Regions from separate parts of the Homo sapiens genome. Here region 2 is linked to region 1. Evidence: promoter capture Hi-C in human tissues and cell types (Jung and others, 2019). All regions are on one chromosome and are shown on one strand. Each heading gives the region's core, a stretch centred on a gene start or on the middle of the fragment in contact. The rest is flanking DNA. Distances are from core to core; before and after follow the strand shown.

Region 1 (4,637 bases), core at 1-2,500:
TGCTGCTGTCCAGGTACTCCACAGAGTAGGTCTTGCCAAAGCCAGGGACGCGGATCTGGACACCAGGGGCGTTGGACACGAGCCCAGAGCTCCGGTTGTAGACAACCCTGCGGGGCGGGGGTGCCACTCAGCAGCCAGTAGCCAAGGGGCAGCGTGTTGGGGCTAGGGTGGAGCACATGGCTGTACCTGGTGTTATCGATCCAGCAGTCTACCCCAAGGGGTAGGAACATGTTGAGATCCAGCCAGATGGTGAAGAAGTCCTCTGTCTTGCGGTAGCACATCCAGTTCACCACATCTGGTTTGTCCAGCTTGGCTTCTAGCTGATTCCCCAGGCAGCCGGGCACTGTGAGCAGCAGCCCTCACTCTGGACTCTGGATTCCCCCCGTGACCCTTACCCCCGTCACCCCAGATGCTGCAGTGACCAGACCCACCCCCCACCTCCCATACCCTCAACCCCCAGGTACAAAGCACACTTACCCTCCCCTGCTTACACCCCCTCTCCCTGCTGTCCCCCCAGTAGCCAAAGCCCAGGCTTCCCTGAGGAAGGGAAGGCGCTGAGGTGCTGAGGCCAAGGCCGCTGACCCCTGCCTCTGCAGAGCAAACACCCAGTCTGGCGCTCCTTTATTGCCAAAGTCCAAGGTGGGAACAGATAGGTCTGGGGGCATGGGGGCTGGGCCTAATAGGGGCCGGGCATGGATGGGCCTCTCCTGCTCACCGATCCTGGGCTGGGCATCTTGTCCTTGGTGGGTGGGGGCCAAGGAAGGAGTGGTGGGGCTTGGCCCAGAGTCTGGTGTGGCTGTGACTGACCACAGCTTGTGATGCCCCAGCCAAGACCTCAGGCACACCCCGTCCCCCACTCCGCCCCCCCTGGGTTAGACAACTGAGAGTCACAGTGTGGTGGGAGAAGGGACGTCATTCCTCTAAGGGACAAGCTTTTGGCCCCTCCCCACACCAGGGCAGGTACTTATGTCGGGGCTTATGCAGGGCAGAAGGGCTTTGGCCAGGTCAGCTGCCAGGGGCTGGGGCCCAGGCTCCCCAGGGTCTGGCGTGGTGCATCAGGGGCCTGGTGGGGGCTTACCGAGGATGACGGGCCGTGTGTGGTTACTGAGCTCAGCCTTGGGCGTGGTGTGCGGGGGGAAGAGCACATTGAGGAGCCAGAAGGGGGCGGCAGGAGGGAGCAGCAGCCCCAGCAGCAGCGTCACCCACTGCCATGGGGAGCCGGGCGGCCCCATTCCAGCCCTGGTGCCTACTGCCAGAGAAAGCGGCACTGGGCTGTCCTTATCTGGTGTGGGAGTGGGAGGGGCCCTAGGGCCAGTGGGAGGGACGGCCTGGCCAGTGGGGGTTGTGGCCAGAGATTGCCGGAAAGGGGCACAGCCTCAGGGAGCCGGCTCTGGGCCTGGGTTCAGTTCCGCCTTCTTCTCTTGGCGCCAGGGGAAACAGAGCCGGGGCAGCAGGAGGCCCAGAACTACACAATGTTTTATTGAAAAAGTCAGGCCTCAGCTCAGCTGTCTCCATTCGGCTCAGCTTGGTGGGGGGCCCTGCCCATAGTAGACTGAGCCAGATCTTCCTGCAGGCAGCTGGGCTGGACTCCCTCCCTGGCTACCCTTCCCTTCGTCTCTGATGGTGACATCCAAACAATAAATATGCAATAAATAGCGCTCCTGGGCTGGGCCGGGCCGGCTGCCTTCAAACCCCACTCGGCCCCTACCAGTCTTCTCTGGCCAGGACAGGCCTACTGGGGTGCTAGATAGTAAAGTCCCCAAACATCCCAGGGTCCCACAAGACCTGGGATCCATCTCCATTTTGAGGCCCAGGCCTGGTTTCCAAGGAGACCTAGCAAAGCTGGGTCCAGGACAGGGCCAGGCAAGCAGGGCTGGCAGGTGGGTGCTGGGAAGAGGCTGTTACCCCAGACCACAGCTTGTTATGTCCTGGCCAAGACCTCGACTCCAGGCCACAAGATGACACTGGGCTCAGGAGTAGATGGTGATGACTTCACGGCCACCACCGCGCACCAACAGCACCCGCTCAAGGCCCTCGGTCAGCACCTCGAGGAACTCCATGTCTGCAGGGCCTCAAGTCAAGGAGGCAACAACAGAATCAACGGGCAACCCGGGCCACCTGGGCCATGCCCACCCAGGGGTGCCCAGGAGAGAAGCCGCTGGCTTGACCTCCCATGCTATCCACCTCCCAACTGCCTGCCTCTCCACAAAGGGATACAGTTCTCGTCGCCCTCACTGTTCCTGGGTGGGCCAGGCATGTTTAGGAGAACCAGGCGGGCGTCGTGGGAGCGCGTGACAATGACTTCATTGAGCTTCACAGCAGTGTGCATGCGCCGCACATTGGATTGGTCCCTACACGTAGTGTAGCCAGTCACAGGTCGCCATGAGCCATCCTGCAAGGAGGGTCCCCACCCCTGGCCCATCTAACACTACTTGTCTGCCCCACCCCACCTCCACCCCTAGATTCCAGTGCCGCTGGGGCTGTTTTTGCTGCACTCACGGCTTAATGTGCACCAGCTCCCGGAAATTGTCAGGGGCATGGCTGGGGTCCCAGGTCTCAGTCATGTACTTGTCCCTGGTCCACGTCATCTGGATCTTGTCAGCCCCCACTGCAGACTCATCTTCCTCGTCCGAGTACAGGCTCTCCAGCCGCAGGGCCGAGTGCCGATCCTTGACCAGCTGGGCCTGAGGACAATTGCAGGAGATAGCCTTGGTCCCATAGGAAAAGGGGGATGGGGCCTGTCTGGCCCAATGTGACCACCTTGCCTCCGGGAAATGAGCACTAGCTTGGGTAGGGCTGCGGTGAGTCATTCTGATTCCTCCGCACCCACCGATGCGGTCTCCAAAGGCCTGACCCTGCCACCCGCCCTGGCGTGAACCACAAAGGGCACTGACTTCTCGCTCCCGCTCAGTCTTGGTCAGTCTCATCTGCCGCAGCATCTGCGACCGCTGCTCCATCATCAGCGTCCGCTCGTAGGTGTATGCAGAGATGTCACTGTTATGCTGGGGACAGGGTTGGCCGTGAGGACCCAGCTGCACGGGACATGGTATCCACGGGGCCAGGGCAGGGCAGAGGGCTCACCATCTCCACCACCTCCACCTCGGCCTCAAGGCGCAGATGGTACAGAAAGACAGCCAGGTCCTTCTTCATCTGGATGCTGTTGTCATCCATCTGGGCCACTGTGAAGATGCGCATCCGGCACTTCCTCCAGACCTGAGGCAAGGGACCAGGTGGGCGGTTTGGTCACAGCTGCTCCTCCAAGGGCCTAGCCCCTCTCATCTGCACCCACCCCCTGGTCTACCTTATGCTGGCGCAGCAGGAAGGGCAGAAGCATGAGCATGCCACCATCGTGCACGATCCACCACACGTCTATGTGGCCCTCCAGGTAGCGCTCGTGGTTGCTGGGGTAGAAGGCGATGTTCTTGGGCACGAGCAGGGCCAGGTGGGCAGCCGTAGTGCAGCGCACGGTGTCTGGGGAGGAGGAGCACGGCTGACCACCAGTCTGTGGCCCTCCGCCCACTGCCACCTCACTTCACCCCTGCCCACCAGGCCCCAGGCCTTCACACACCAATGAAGGTCTTCCAGGCACGGGGGTCCTCGCTCTGTCGCCAGCCGTAGGGCCAGCCCAGCACCACGGAGTTATGCCGCATGCCTCCCAGGCCACAGGACTGGATGAGGTGGGCCAGCCCCTCCCGCACCTTGCTGGCCACCACCACCTGGCAGAAGCCCTTCACCTTCTCAATTTCCATCATGTTCTTGATGGTCTGTGGGGAACACACCCAGGGCCAATGGGAGGCCATCAGCTTCCTGCCTCTGGGCTCCCTCCCAAGGCCCCTCGGGAACAAAACGACTTTTGGGTGGAGGAGGGCCTGGGGGCAACAAGCTGCCTACCCAGAGGCCAAGTTTTCAAGATGGGACTGCTGGCTCCCCCTTGTGCCAGCTCTCAGGTGGCAGCAGTGCTGGCTGCCTGGCTGGCCACCCTGGCCAAGACTGGGCCCTCCCCTCCGTGCCAGCTGCAGTCCAGACCCCTGTAGTCTGGCTCAGCTCTCCCTCCCCAAAGCAAGTACCTGCTCGGCGGCCTGAGCCTCGCCATAGCTCTCCAAGAAGCTCCCCTGGATGACAGAACCAACAATGGTCAGGCCCTTGCCAGCCTTGAGCTGGGAGGCGAAGGTGAGGAGCCGCGGGTACTTCACGTGGAGGTCCTCGTCCAGCTTCAGCAGCACCAGCAGCTGCGGCCTGCAGTGGCCGGGTGGGGGGAGCCTGAGACCAGGGCCGGCCGTTCTAGGGAGCCCCTCCTCTTCTTCCCTTCTCGGGTCGTGGTCCCTGCAGGTTTGGGTAGCATGGCCCAGGAGGGTGCCCCGGGCAGCCCCAGGATGGGGAGCCGGCACCTCTCGACCCTCTGACCCCGACAGCGACCCCTAAGAACCTCTGCGCCCTGGCCAGGGTCTGGCGGGAACTCACCGCCAGTTCTTGGTGTGAGGAGGCCCCTCCTCCAGCCGCAACAGCGCGTAGCGGGCAGCGCTCAGGGACAGGCCTCGGATCCCGTCACCCCACTCCTTCTCAGCCCTGCAGATTCCACCACAGCTGGTGAGCCCCTGGTGCCGCCCAGGGGGTTCTGTCTATGTGGATGCGAGGTG
Region 2 (4,637 bases), core at 1,502-4,001, 120 kb before region 1:
GAGTAGGGTAAGCCAGGGTCAGTCCCATGGTGGGTGAGCTGGCATGGGCCAGGCTTTGGGCCAGGAGACAGGGCAGGGGCGTGTGTTGCCCCAGACTGAGGGCACAAGGGCCCCGTGGGGGTGCTGGCCACATATCAGCCACTGTCCCCTGCAGGAGCTGCCAGCAGCACCCCTTTCGCACTGCCAAGCCCCAGTACTTGGAGGAACTGGAAAACTACCTACGCAAGGAGCTCCTCCTGCTGGACCTGGGCACAGATTCCACCCAGGAACTAAGGCTGCAGGTCAGAGCCACAGAAGAAACTTGGGGAGGGCGGGGGAAGGGTGGGAAGAAGCTTCACCTACCGGCCGGGCACAGTGGCTCACGCCTGTAATCTCAGCACTTTGGGAGGCCAAGGCGGGTGGACCACCTGAGGTCAGGAGTTCAAGACCAGCCTGGCCAACATGGCGAAACCCCGTCTCTACTAAAAGTACAAAAATTAGCCAGGCATGGTAGTGGGCACCTGTAGTCCCAGCTACTCAGGAGGCTGAGGCAGGAGAATCGCTTGAACCCTGAACCCGGGAGGCAGCGGTTGCAGTGAGACAAGATCACACCACTGCACTCCAACCTGGGCGACAAGAGTGAGACTCCGTCTCAAAAACAAAAAAAAGCCTCACCTACAAGGACTGAGCACCTCAGACCTTCAGGGGAGACCCACCTCTCCCAGCTCTCCTGGGTCTCCTTCCCTGAACAGAAGCATGAAACATCCCATGAAAATGCCAGTGAGGCCGGGCACAGTGGCTCATGCCTGTAATCCCAGCACTTCGGGAGGCTGAGGCAGGAGGATCGCTTGAGGTCAGGAGTTCAAGACCAGCCTGGTCAACATGGTGAAACCCTGCCTCTACTAAAAATACAAAACCTGCAGTGGTGGTACACACCTGTAGTCCCAGCTACTCAGGAGGCTGAGGCAGGAGAATTGCTTGAACCCAGGCGGCAGAGGTTGCAGTGAGCCGAGATCATGCCACTGCACTACAGCCTGGGCAACAGAGTGAGACTCTGTCAACAGAAAAAAGAAGGCCAGGCACGGTGGCTCACACCTGTAATCCCAGCAGTTTGGGAGGCCGAGGCAGGCGGATCACCAGGTCAGGAGATCGAGACCATCCTGGCTAACATGGTGAAACCCCGTCTCTACTAAAAATACAAAAAAATTAGCCAGGTGTGGTGGCAGGCACCTGTAGTCCCAGCTGCTCGGGAGGCTGAGGCAGGAGAATGGCATGAACCTGGGAGGCGGAGCTTGCAGTGAGCCAAGTTCACGCCACTGCACTCCAGCCTGGGCAACAGAGTGAGACTCCATCTCAAAAAAAAAAAAAAAAAAAGAAAACGCCAGTGAGCAGGCAAGGCTGCAATGTGGATCCAAAAGTCTCCTGAGGCTGGAGTTTCCTCACCTGAGTCAGGTGGCCTGGATGCTGTGCCCAGTCCCTGCAGCTCTGTGATCCCCAGTACCCAGGTTGGGCCACTGGACATCAGTGAACGTAGCCTGAATGCTGGCAGTTGGGCAAGCAGGGGTCACACCGTGTTTACCAGTCCAGTGGCAACAACCCCAAGCTTAAGGAACCAGCACAGATGCATAAGGAGGGAGGGAGGAAGAGAGAGAGAGAGAGAGAGAGAGATCAGATCCAACCCAGATACCAGTGTATAGTAGGGAGAGAATCACCAAATCTGCTTAAACAAGGATGATGACAGAGAATCCCTGCCTTTTGACTTAGTCATTGACTAAAGCATTTACTGAGCACTGGCTATGTGCAAGTGCAAGGCCCTGGGCTGGGGCCTTACATCGATCTCCTGAACAGATAAGGAAGAAAGCATACCACTATGGCGTAGTGGGGCTGGGCTTCAAACTCAGGGCTGACTCTGGAGACTGTGCTCATTTCAGTGAGCAATGCTGCCTCCAGAAACCTCCCATGTGTCCAAATGGGACAGAAGACCACACCCCTACTTGCATGTCAGGATGCAAGGGTACAACCTTCAATCTCCTGAATCTACCAGGCTCTAAGATGGGGAGAGGTTACAAGTGAGAGGCCAATGATGCAGTGTCTAGAAGGCAAGAGGCTGGCTGCCTGGAGAGCCAGAGAGGGGCTCAGGCACAGAGTGGATGTCTGTCTATGGTCATGGCAGTCCACTAGGCCTCAGAGACAGCATCAGGACAGGCCTCCAGAGAGCTGCCCCCCAGGCTCCGTGGCACTGTGAGGTACCCGGGTGGTATCTAGGGCATTTACTTGAATATAAGTGACCTGGCAGCCTCATGCTGGAATACTGCTAAGCCCAGTAAAGAAAAAAACAGTGCCAGGCACAGTGGCTCACACCTGTAATCCCAGCACTCTGGGAGGCCGAGGTGGGTGGATCACGAGGTCAGGAGATCGAGACCATCCAGGCCAACATGGTGAAACCTCATCTCTACTAAAAATACAAAAATTAGCCAGGTGTGGTGGCGCGTGCCTGTAATCCCAGCTACTCAGGAGGCTGAGGCAGGAGAATCACTTGAACCTGGGAGGCAGAGGTTGCAGTGAGCTGAGATTGCACCACAGCACTCCAGCCTGGGTGATGGAGCGACACTCCGTCTCAGGAAAAAAGAAAAAGAAAAACAGTTCCCCACTAAGGTTGGCAGCTGTGGGCTAGGAGATGATGGGTTCCCTTTTCTTGCCAGCCTTACAGAGAGATCTTTGAGTTCTTCATAGAGGACTTCAAAACGTACAAGCCATTACTATCCTCCATCAAGAATGCGTATGAGGGGATGCTGGGTAAGAATGCACCTCCTGCCAGGCGTAGTGGCTCACGCCTGTAATCCCAGCACTTTAGGAGGCCGAGGCGGTAGATCACTTGAGGTCAGGAGTTTGAGACCAGCCTGGCCAACATGGTGAAACCCTGTCTCTAGTAAAAACACAAAAAAATTAGCTGCGCATGGTGGCACACACCTGTAATCCCAGCTACTTGGGAGACTGAGGCAGGAGAATTGCTTGAACCTAGGAGGTGGAGGTTGCAGTGAGTTGAGATCACACCACCGCACTCCAGCCTGGGCAAAAGAACAAGACTCCATCGCAAAAAAAAAAAAAAAAAAAGAATGCAGCTCCCCTCCTTGTCCCAGCCTGGAAGGGGTGGAGAAGATCCTATTCGACCTTCTGGTGCTCCACAGCAGGGCTGGGGCAGCTACCAACTGGGCCTTGAGGTCACCAAGGCCCCTCAGCCATTCTGCACAGACTGTTCCATGATAGGGCACCCCAGAGCACCTGACAACACCTGTCATTGAGAAGCACAGGGGGGCAGTCCCTGTTGAAAATGGAGTGAACCCCAGGAGAGAGTCAGCACCTCTGGGAGTCAGCAGGCTCCCCTGCCAGGCTCAGGAGGTGCAGGGCATGGTGCAGCTGCAGGACTTAAGGCTGTAGGGGAAAGGACATAGGAGAGACCCCGGTCTTCATCTGAACTCTGCCCTTTGTTTAAAATCAAGTGCAGGAAGGCCTGAAACAGGGACCATGGCTTTGAACAAGGCATGCAGAGATTCTTGGGGTTTGCAAGCGACATAGCCACTCACCCATGACCTTAGGGTGTCTTCTGGCTGTTTGTTCTCCATGGCCCCAAAGCAGCTCTCCCACCTGTCTCTGCTTAGCCCACCAAAGGGAGAAGATTCGGGCTCTGGAGCCCCTGAAGGCCAAGCTTGTCACTGTGAATGAGGACTGCAATGAGAGGATCCTGGCCATGAGAGCTGAGGAGAAATATGAAATCTCCCTGCTCAAGAAAGAGAAGATGAACTTGCTAAAACTCATCGACAAAAAGAATGAGGAGAAGATTTCATTGCAGAGCGAGGTGAATGGAAGTGGTGTGATGATGACCAAGTCCCCGAATTCCTGCCAACTCCACGACAAGGGTGACCCCCTACCCTGCTCTGCCTTTCTACGGAGAGTGACACACTGAGCCACCACCTTCCCCCAGAGCCTTGCTAACTCCACCCTCTGCCCTGCTGCTAGGCTCAGTACTTTCCCCACAGGGGGAAACATTGGCACCTTGCCGAATTCTCAGAAATGGCCAATCTCCTTCTTCTTTCACCTTTCCTGTTCACAGTCCCTGATGGGGCCCCCCAGAACCCAGCCCACTCCCTGGGGTGACCAGCTGCATACAGGGGTCCAGGGGCAGCCCCTGACCACACAGCCACCTTCTTGCCAGGTGACCAAACTGAGGAAGAACTTGGCTGAGGAGTACCTGCACTACCTCAGTGAGCGAGATGCCTGTAAGATCCTCATCGCAGACCTGAATGAGCTGCGGTACCAGCGGGAGGACATGTCATTAGCCCAGTCGCCAGGTAAGCCTGAATTGGGAATCGGGTTTCTCTCTTCTCTGAGACGCTGGAAGACTCTGGTCTCACCCCTAAGCCCCATTCATTCAGCATTCCTAAGACCTGCTCATTCCATAACCATTCAGAGGGGAGATGTCCCTGCCTCCCGCAGGGCTGTGTATCTTCTGAGTTGAACTGAGAATTGTAGGAACACAGTTGGTAGCTGAGGCAGCCTAGGCTCCCAGTGGGCTGGACAGGCCTGGTACTCAGTTTCCTGGGCTTCTAGACTTTAGCCTGAAACCCTAGGCTGGTAGTGCTGTGGGCAAGAACCAGGGA

The links. The method cuts DNA at HindIII sites, captures the fragments that hold promoters and counts their contacts. A contact is called where the count stands out against the background at its distance.
Region 2: a contact is called between a fragment that was not itself captured here and the fragment with the promoter of LCAT in region 1, in 2 of the 25 tissues and cell types used here (small bowel and spleen).

The regions. Positions count from the first base shown.
Region 1 is chr16:67,942,870-67,947,506 of GRCh38, forward strand. LCAT (lecithin-cholesterol acyltransferase) reads right to left here and starts at 1,251. Exons shown (of 6, transcript NM_000229.2): 1 at 1,079-1,251; 2 at 187-343; 3 at 1-107. The coding sequence starts at 1,232. SLC12A4 (solute carrier family 12 member 4) reads right to left here. Exons shown (of 24, transcript NM_005072.5): 16 at 4,462-4,566; 17 at 4,068-4,236; 18 at 3,569-3,764; 19 at 3,302-3,471; 20 at 3,082-3,213; 21 at 2,895-3,002; 22 at 2,500-2,684; 23 at 2,218-2,351; 24 at 605-2,062. The coding sequence ends at 1,971. RefSeq lists an enhancer at 1-382. The HindIII fragment of the contact is 35,269 bases long and covers 1-4,637 here.
Region 2 is chr16:67,820,945-67,825,581 of GRCh38, forward strand. TSNAXIP1 (translin associated factor X interacting protein 1) reads left to right here. Exons shown (of 16, transcript NM_001288990.3): 3 at 1-7; 4 at 155-281; 5 at 2,682-2,775; 6 at 3,639-3,835; 7 at 4,193-4,328. Among named protein-coding and RNA genes, the nearest start is that of TSNAXIP1, 16 kb to the left of the region's middle. RefSeq lists an enhancer at 4,546-4,637. The HindIII fragment of the contact is 3,588 bases long and covers 958-4,545 here.